2 separate regions of the Homo sapiens genome follow, and region 2 is linked to region 1. Evidence: promoter capture Hi-C in 16 types of primary human blood cells and fetal thymus (Javierre and others, 2016). All regions are on one chromosome and are shown on one strand. The core of a region is centred on a gene start or on the middle of the fragment in contact, and the rest is flanking DNA. Distances in the headings are between cores, read along the strand shown.

Evidence for each region. Contacts are between HindIII fragments. The CHiCAGO score rates a contact against its expected background, and 5 or more counts as called.
Region 2: a contact is called between the fragment with the promoter of AZGP1 here and the fragment with the promoter of PILRB in region 1, in 5 of 17 cell types (activated CD4 T cells, naive CD8 T cells, total CD4 T cells and 2 more). The highest score is 7.8, in activated CD4 T cells.

Annotation. Positions count from the first base shown.
Region 1 is chr7:100,356,240-100,361,138 of GRCh38, forward strand. PILRB (paired immunoglobin like type 2 receptor beta) reads left to right here and starts at 1,878. Exons shown (of 4, transcript NM_178238.4): 1 at 1,878-2,127; 2 at 2,451-2,840; 3 at 3,098-3,298. The coding sequence starts at 2,064. It overlaps STAG3L5P-PVRIG2P-PILRB (STAG3L5P-PVRIG2P-PILRB readthrough), which reads left to right. Exons shown (of 17, transcript NR_036570.1): 13 at 511-644; 14 at 1,981-2,127; 15 at 2,660-2,840; 16 at 3,098-3,298. It overlaps MIR6840 (microRNA 6840), which reads left to right and starts at 412; the gene lies at 412-482. The HindIII fragment of the contact is 11,655 bases long and covers 1-3,327 here.
Region 2 is chr7:99,972,788-99,977,696 of GRCh38, forward strand. AZGP1 (alpha-2-glycoprotein 1, zinc-binding) reads right to left here and starts at 3,244. Exons shown (of 4, transcript NM_001185.4): 1 at 3,158-3,244. The coding sequence starts at 3,233. The HindIII fragment of the contact is 13,516 bases long and covers 1,892-4,909 here.

The DNA of each region.
Region 1 (4,899 bases), core at 628-3,127:
TTGTCCTCTTTTCGGCCCACCTTTGCAGGTGGGACCAGTTCAGTCCAAAGCCCCGGTGCCTCAGTTTCCCTGTGGGTTGAACAAGGAGAATGAGGTGTATAGGGCCTGGCTCAGACGGAGGGGTTTCCTGAGCATGGGGAGCCTGTTTCCTCAGACCTGTGAAGGGAAGGAGGGTGGATCGGCCTGACTGGCCCTGGGAAGCACAGAGGAGCCTACTGGGACCAGGGAAGAGACTGACAAGAGAAGGGAGGCCTGTCCCTGCCTGCTTCTGTCTCAAGAAGATTGTTATCACTTCCTCTGGTGAAATCCTGCCTTCCTGTCCCCACGGCCCCTCAGCTGATGCCACCTTACTCTGGAGAGGATGGGCAGAGCCTCCTATGGAGGGAGCCCTGTGGGTCACCAAAGCTCCAGTGACCACCCCCGGGCAAAGACCTGCAGATCCCCTGTTAGAGACGGGCCCAGGACTTTGTGCGGGGTGCCCACTGTTGCTCTGAGCCTTCACTTCCTCAGGGAGGCTTCCTCAGGATCTCGAACCTGCGGAAGGAGGACCAGTCTGTGTACTTCTGCCAAGTCCAGCTGGACATACAGATCAGGGAGGCTGTCGTGGCAGTCCATCAAGGGGACCCACCTCACCATCACCCAGGGTGAGTCCAGCTGCCCTGGCACCAAGGAACCTTCCTGGTTCAGCCATAGGCTCAGGTGTGTGGAGGGAATGACCTGAGGGGCTGTATGAGGGAACAACCTCCTGGGGCTCCCCTATGCCTGAGTTCCTGCAACTCAGAAGTTGAGGCCCAGAGATCCAGGTAGAGGGGGCTCCAGTCCTGGGACTGCCCTGCAAGTCATGTGGCCTGGGACAGGGCTTCTCCAAGCTCTGTCCCCTCCTGTGTAGGGCAGGGAGGTCAGAGGGGACCCTGCAGATCCAGTCTCATGTCTGGGGGTCAAGGGGTGGCCTCGAGAGGGACCAGTCTCTGTGTAGGGGACCGTCAGCCCCCTCACCCCTTGAGCAAGACTGTGGTCCCTGCACCAAGGGAGCAGGCCTGGGGTGGGAAGAGGCCAGCTGGGCTGTGGTGGTGCCTGGGGACTGCATGGGAGCCCCTGCCAGGGAGGGAGAGGGACAGAGGACAAGCTGGGGGCTCTGGTGCTTGGGCTGGGGGCTGAGCGCCTGTGACCTCCACTGGCTTCCTCCTTCTCCTCTCTGAGGACTGAATCTGGGGTGCAGCAGAGCACAGACTCAGGCCCGCCTTTCCTCTCCCTGAAAGAGCCTGCGCTGGCCTTGGACAGAGAAAGGGATGAGAAGTGAGGCTGAGTGCGGTGGGGTCTGCAGGGATCCAGGTGGGAGGGGCCCAGCCAGCCAAGGTGAGGCCCAGCCCCTCAGCAGGAAGATGGGCACTGGGGCCCTTGGGCAGGGCTGACTTGACACTTTTGTGTGACTTGAGCCACTGTGCCCAGCCTGAACACCCTTTCCTGGTAAAACACTCCACAAACCAGGAAGAGAAGGAATGTACTGCAACAAAATAAAGGCCAGTCATGCAAGGCCCATGGCTGAAAGTCTTTCAGTCATTTTAGATGAAAGACTGAAATCTTTGCCTCCAAGATCAGGAACAAGAGAAGGATGCCCGCTCTCACTACTTCTATTCAACACAGGATTTGAAGTCAGGCCGGGCACAGTGGCTCACGCCTGTAATCCCAGCACTTTTGGAGGCTGAGGCGGGCAGATTACTTGAGCCTATGAGTGTGAGACCACCCTGGCCAACATGGCAAAACCCCATCTCTACTAAAAAAAAAAAAAAAAAAAGGATTTGAAGTCCTGGCCGGAGCAATTAGGCAAGGGATAAAAAGGCACCTAAGGCCCTTTTGCAATAAGAAGCCAGATGGATAAAGGAAGTGCTGGTCACCCTGGAGGTGTACTGGTTTGGGGAAGGTCCCCGGCCCCCACAGCCCTCTGGGGAGCCTCACCCTGGCTCTCCCCACTCACCTCAGCCCTCAGGCAGCCCCTCCACAGGGCCCCTCTCCTGCCTGGACAGCTCTGCTGGTCTCCCCGTCCCCTGGAGAAGAACAAGGCCATGGGTCGGCCCCTGCTGCTGCCCCTGCTGCTCCTGCTGCAGCCGCCAGCATTTCTGCAGCCTGGTGAGTACCCAGGACCGCCCAGGTATGGTCTCTGCCCAAACCACAGGAGGGGCCAACCCAAGACAAAGGCAGAACATCTGGGGCAGGGGCCAGGCTCCCACCTCCAGCAAACAAGGGCGGGTCCCATAGGGGTGGGTGCCGCCATCTCTTCCCCCTCCACCCTCCCCCATGCCTGAAGAGTGGGAGACCCAGGCCAGAGGTCAGTCCAGCCACCTGTCACACGACTGCCTGTGGGTGAAGGTGTGGGAGGGTCTGGGGTCACCCTCTTTGTGTCCTGAGGTGGTTTCAAGGTCTCTCCCCCACTCACTCCCTCCTTCCTCTAGGTGGCTCCACAGGATCTGGTCCAAGCTACCTTTATGGGGTCACTCAACCAAAACACCTCTCAGCCTCCATGGGTGGCTCTGTGGAAATCCCCTTCTCCTTCTATTACCCCTGGGAGTTAGCCATAGTTCCCAACGTGAGAATATCCTGGAGACGGGGCCACTTCCACGGGCAGTCCTTCTACAGCACAAGGCCGCCTTCCATTCACAAGGATTATGTGAACCGGCTCTTTCTGAACTGGACAGAGGGTCAGGAGAGCGGCTTCCTCAGGATCTCAAACCTGCGGAAGGAGGACCAGTCTGTGTATTTCTGCCGAGTCGAGCTGGACACCCGGAGATCAGGGAGGCAGCAGTTGCAGTCCATCAAGGGGACCAAACTCACCATCACCCAGGGTGAGTCCAGCTGCCCTGACACCTGCCTTGCCCACCGCAGTGAGGGTTTTGGTGACCACTGATGTCTTCACATTTAAACCCAGTGGTCTGGATTGAGAGCTGTTAGCATTTCACCTTGCTACCCCTTCCATGTCTGGGCTTCTGAGAGCAGCTTGCTCATCCTGAATGTCCCCAATCTAGAAAGCAGCACACCATGCCTTTCATCCAGACGCCCCACACCCCCAGAAGAGGGTCTGCTCATTCCTCATCTCTTCCAGCTGTCACAACCACCACCACCTGGAGGCCCAGCAGCACAACCACCATAGCCGGCCTCAGGGTCACAGAAAGCAAAGGGCACTCAGAATCATGGCACCTAAGTCTGGACACTGCCATCAGGGTTGCATTGGCTGTCGCTGTGCTCAAAACTGTCATTTTGGGACTGCTGTGCCTCCTCCTCCTGTGGTGGAGGAGAAGGAAAGGTAAGTGCCCAGAACGCACTGTCTCCTCAAGCTTCCCAGCTGGGGGTTTCTCTGAGCCCACCTGCAGCTAAGGGACTTCAGAAATATGCAGACCCTGCTGGCTCCCCTCAAGCCCACCAAGGCCGACTCTGGCCTGTGCTGGGGCGTCTGCATCTCGGGGGCCTCCTGCAGTGGGGTGGTGCAGGGTCACATGTGAGAACCCCCAGCCTGGGCGCGGTGGCTCATGCCTGTAATCCCAGCACTTTGGGAGCCCAAGGCAGGTGGATCACAAGGCCAAGAGATCAAGACCATCCTGGCCAACATGGTGACACCCCATGTCTACTAAAAATACAAAAATTAGCTGGGCATGGTGGCACACGCTTATAGTCCCAGCTACTCAGGAGGCTGAGGCAGGAGAATCGCTTGAACCCGGGAGGCAGAGGTTGCAGTGAGTCAAGGTCGTGCCACTGCACTCCAGCCTGGTGACAGAACAAGACTCTGTCTCAAACAAACAAACAAACAAACAAAAAAAGCCCCCAGCCCTCTCCACACAGCTGGATCCCCCCAACTTCTCTCTCAGTCATCAATCATCCACGCTCCCCTGAAGGTTCCTGGGGAGGGGAGGGCCTGCCCTGGGAAAAGAACAGAGAGAGGAGAAGGGACCAGAATTGGGCTGAGCTCAGCAGGCACTGGCTGACTGCCCTCCTGCCACGGCCTGGCTTGAAACTGGAGAAGCAAAGTATATAAAGCATAGGCTCTGCTCTCAGGGAACTGGGGGTGTGGAGTTGTCAGTTGCCTCAAGGACTAATTGCTTCATTGAGAAAGAACTATGGTATTGCTAAACAAGGGTGGGAGGAGAGAGAGGTAATCAGGGAGGACTTCCCACAGGAGGTGGCATCTGCAGATGTCTCAAAAAAGAAAAGAATTAGCCTGGCAAGAGGTGAGGATTGTGTAGAGGTCACTCACTTTCCTTGTGGGTGGAGGAAACCATTCCAGGAGCTGTAGGAAGCTTGGTGCTGGTGAAGGAGGCAGGAGAGGAGAGAAGAGGAGATGACCTTAGAAATCACATCCAAGAGCCTCTGATCCCAGAGGCAGCGTGAGGCAGCAAAGGGTGACCTCAGTTCCCCATGAGAGACCTCAGTCTATGGAGGAATGGCCAGAGGTGGGCCAGGCTGGGTCAGTGCAGTGCAGGAGTGAGGTGGAGAGAGGGAAAGGGCCAGATCCTAGAAAAGATTAAGTAATAAAAACCAATGAGATTGTTAGATTGATGTAGGGGCAAGGGAGCAGGAAGAAGCACCCGTTTCCACTTGGGTGCATGGGGCTATGATGAAACCACCAACTACAGTAGACAATAGAGGAGGAGACTATGTTTGGAGGGGAGCGATGCCTCGTTTAGTTCGGAATTTGTTTTTTTGTTTTGTTTTGTTTTTTGTTTTTGAGACAGAGTTTTGTTCTGTCGCCCAGGCTGGAGTGCAGTGGCACAATCTCGGCTCACTGCAAGCTCCCCCTCCTGGGTTCAAGCCATTCTCCTGCCTCAGCCTCCTGAGTAGCTGGGACTACAGGCGCCCGCCACCACACCTGGCTAATTTTTTGTAGTTTTAGTAGAGACGGGGTTTCACTCT
Region 2 (4,909 bases), core at 1,994-4,493, 380 kb before region 1:
TGGATGACAGAGTGAGACTCCGTCTCAAAAAAAACAAATTAACATTTCGTCCGGGCTCAGTGGCTCACGCCTGTAATCCCAGCACTTTAGGGGGCCGAGGCGGGTGGATCACGAGGTCAGGAGATCGAGACCATCCTGGCTAACATGGTGAAACCCCGTCTCTACTAAGAATTCAAAAAATTAGCCAAGCATGGTGGCGGGTGCCTGTAGTCCCAGCTACTCAGGAGGCTGAGGCAGGAGAATGGCATGAACCCGGGAGGCGGAGCTTGCAGTGAGCTGAGATCATGCCACTGCACTTCAGCCTAGGTGACAAAGCAAGGCTCCATCTCAAAAAAAAAAAAATTAACACTTCTAGCTTAACCTGACAAATACATATAGTTAGAAAGGGTAGAAAGGAGAATTTACCAGAAAATTCAAGAAATGACCCAGACTGAATTAGCACAGGGTAAGACTAGGATGGAGCTCAGAATTCCCGGGGTTGTACCTTGCATTTTGGTACAAGGTGGGATCTGGGAGAGAGGGACATTTCCATAATAGTTCCATAATTATTTTATGATACAATTTACACAGGTGCTAATGATGTTGGAGGTCATATGGCAGAATCCTAGTTCAATTACTAAAATTATTCTTGCTCCTGAGTGTCTAAATGTGATTAGCCTTTAAATCAGTAGACCCTACAATTGAATTCATGGACATAGAGAGTAGAAGGATGGTTACCAAAGGCTGGGAAGGGTAGTGGCAGGGTTGGGGGGAAATTGGGAGGGTGGTTAATGGGTACAAAAAAAATAGTTAGAAAACTATTTGATAGCACAACAAAGTGACTCCAGTGAATAATAATTTAACTGGGGCCAGGTGTGGTGGCTCATGCCTGTAATTCCAACACTTTGGGAAGCTGAGGCAGGTGGGTCACTTGAGGTCAGGAGTTCGAAACCAGCCTGGCCAACATGGTGAAACCCCATCTCTACTAAAAATACATAAATTAGCCGGGCGTGGTGGCACACACCTGTAGTCCCAGCGACTCAGAAGGCTGAGGCAGGAGAATCGCTTAAGCCCGGGAGGCAGAGGTTGCAGTGAGCCAAGATTGCACCACTGCATTCCAGCCTGGGCAACTCTGTCACAAAAAAAAAAAAAAAAAGAAGAATGAATAAGACCTACTATTTGATAGCACAACAGGGTGACTATAGTCAATAATAATTTAACTGGGGCCAGGTGTGGTGGCTCGTGCCTGTAATTCCAGCACTCTGGGAGGCTGAAGTGAGTGGATCACTTGAGGTCAAGAGGTCAAGACCAGTCTAGCCAACATGGTGAAACCCTATCTCTATTAAAAATACATAAGTTAGCCGTGTGTGGCAGTGTACACCCGAGGCAAGATAATTGCTTGAACCCAACAGGCGGAGGTTTGCAGTAAGCCAAGATCACGCCACTGCACTCCAGCCTGGGTGACAGAACAAGAATCCATCTCAAAAATAATAATAATAATCATAATTTAATTGTACACTTTTAAATAACCAAAAGAGAGGCCAGGCGCAGTTGCTGACACCTGTAATCCCGGCACTTTGGGAGACCAAGGCGGGCAGATCACGAGGTCAGGATATCAAGACTAGCCTGGCCAACATGATGAAACCCGTCTCTACTAAAAATACAAAAAAATTAGCCAGGTGTGGTGGCAGGTGCCTGTAGTCCTAGCTACTCAGGAGACTGAGGCAGGAAAATTGCTTGAACCTGGGAGGCGGAGGTTGCAGTGAGCCGAGATCATGCCACTGCACTCCTGCCTGGGTGACAGAGTGAGACTCTGTCTCAAAAATAAATAAATAAATAAATAATCAAATACTTTTAAAAACTAAAATAACCAAAAAAGTATAATTGGATTGTCTGTAACACAAACGATAAAAGCTTGAAGGGATGGATACCTCATTTTTGATGATGTGATTATTTCACATTGCATGCCTGAATCAAAACCTCTCATGTACCCCATAAATATATACACATACTATGCACCCACAGTTTTTTTTTTAATTTACAAAAAAATCAGTAGACCTTGAGTAAAGTGGATTACTCTCCATAGTGGTGGGCTTCATCCAATCAGTTGAAGGCCTTAAGAGAAAAAGCCTCAGATGTCCCCTAAAGAGGAAAGAATTCTGCCTACAGTCTGCCCTTGGAATCAAGACTAAGACATCAACTCTTCCCTGGGTCTCCAGCCTGCTGGCCGGCTCTGAAGATTTAGGACTTGTTACTCCTCCCAATAGTGTGAGTCAATTTCTTAAAATAAATCTCTACTCTCTCTCTCTTTTGTATACATATATGTAAATCTCTTCCTATGTGTGTGTGTATCCATGTGTATACAGTGTATGTATGTATGTGTACGTACATATATATGTATATGTGTACCACCTATTAGTTCTGTTTCTCTGGAGAACCCTGAGTAATTCAGATTTTGGCACAGAATCAGATTAACATTCCAAAGTGATTGTTATATAACAAACATATAACACCTTTTCTGACAATTTGTAAATGTCATGAATTTTAAACTCACACAACTGAGAAGCCATTCGCTTCCATGTCTTTATCCTGCACATTCTCATGCCACAAACAGCCTCCTTCCCTTATCCTAGGAGTGACTCTTGATCTCCCGGAGCTCCCACTCTCTTCTCTTCCAGCCACTCGCCTTCCAGACCCACTGCAGTGGTGTCTGAGTGTGGGATTTGGGCACGGGTTTCCTTCTAGCACCATCCCTCCAGCCAACCTGCCTTCCCACTTTCCCCTTGGGGCTGCTCTCTCTTTCCCTCAGCGTCAGGCAGGTGTACCCAGCCATCGGAAGGAGGGAAGGAACAGGAGCAGAAGCAGCTCCAGGCATATGGTTCCTACTCCGTCCTGACTGTCTACCCCAAGCAGGTCGCTTGGTCTTTGGAGTCTTTGTTTTCACTGTAAACTAGGGGTTTTAGATTCAGATTCCTGAAGGTCTTATTTCGGGCCAGCGCAGAGGCTCCCTGAATGCTCCTGGAAGTGTGTGAGCTGAGGGAGTTGACAGCCTTGGGCACCCATTCCTGCCGTATGCCAGGGTATCCCAGCTGCATCCAGCCTGTCTCCCAGCCACATGTCCTGTTCCTCACCTCCTTCCAGTCCTCTCCAGCACCCATCCCTTGCTTTCCCCACTCACCATCTTGGTTCTCCTGGGGGACAGCAGGACCCAGAAGCAGCAGCAGAGACAGCAGGACAGGCACCATTCTTACCATTGTGTCTGCTTGGAGGGTTCTGGGCAGGAGGCACAGATATTATCCTGGGTCCTGGGGCCCTGCCCAGGGGAGGTGAATCTACAGGCCAATGGGAGTGCCAGGACGGGCTCCTCCCCTAATAGAGAAAAAAAAATGATACACAAGCTAGGCTGGGCAGAGGTTATGAAGAATGAATCTACACACAGGATATGCAAATTCAGAGCTGAGTCCAGAGTTGATCTCTGGACTGAGGCTTTGTGTGTGCCTGGGGTGGAAGGATGCCAGTGGGTAGGAGGTGCGTGTGATGGGTGGCAAGCGCCTGGGATGTGTCACCCTTCCAGTCTATTGTGACAACCCCTGGGCCAGTAGGGGCATTTGTGTGTTTTTGGACCACACTGTATCCCTGCCTTCCAGAAAAACTCTCAACATGTCCAAGACATGGACCTGGGTAGACCCCAGCTGGGGTGGGACCCTCACTCTCCCACATCCGATCCTGCCAGAGGCTGTGTCTGGAGGACAGTCACATTCCCATCTCTCCCTCCTTCCTTTCTGTGCCTGTGGAATCCCAGCCTTCCATGATGGAAGCAGAAATAGCCGCATCCTCCTTTTGCAGCCTCCCTGGCAACAGAACGAGCCTCCCAAAATGCTGGGATTAAAGGCGTGAGCCACCACGCCCAGCCAAGATAATTTTTAATGCATACAACAAGACTCGTTTTACACAGACGAAGCCAGTTATTTGAAAACCAGGTCTTTCCAGGCACGCTCAGTGTTGATGGGCTATTTGCAGAGAGACCCTCCGAATACAAAGCAACATGCTATTCTAAAGTGACTGGGGCCCGGGTGCGGTGACTCATGCTTGTAATCCCAGCACTTTGGGAGGCTGAGGTGGTTGGATCACCTCAGGTTGAGGTCAGGTACTCGAGACCAGCCTGGGCAACATGATGAAACCTCGTCTCTACTGAAAAAATACAAGAATTAGCTGCGCGTGGTGGCACATGCCTATAATCCCAGCACTCAGGAAGCTGAGGCAGGGGTTTCACCATGTTGGCCAAGCTGGTTTTGAACTCCTGACCTCGTGATCTGCCCGCCTCGGTCTCCCAAAGTGCTGGGTTTACTAGTGTGAGCAACTGTGCCCAGCCTCTCTTTTGGTTAAAGAAACCTACAAAGGGACCTTTTATAGTGACTTCAATTTTATGGAATAATTGTAATGCTCCTAAGGCCGTTGTGCTCCAAAGTCTAGCCGCAGGTATTGTTATTGATTGGGCTCCAAAAGGGCATTATTGGCAAGATTGCTCCAGCAAAAATACCTCATGCTCAGAGTTTAATTATTTGTTAGATTATGTAGAGGATGGATGGCAGTCATACAGGCTGAGACAATGGGTGTCCCCTTACCTATTTAAATGGATGGATGCAGGCATTACTCCTCCTAGACCAAAAATGATTCATCCCTTTGTTACCCCAGAACATCCTCAACTATGAAAATTAGCTGCAGCTATGACAGGAATAAGGATATGGAACACTACCTATCAACTCCTTCACACTAATACCAAAACACCCACATTCAACATCACCCTCATATCTGAACGGGTGATACCCATCAGGAGCTATGTCAAACCCCCTTACATGCTGTTGGTTGGAAATATAATTATCATTCCCAATACACAAACTATAGAATGTGATAACTGTAAGCTGTTCAC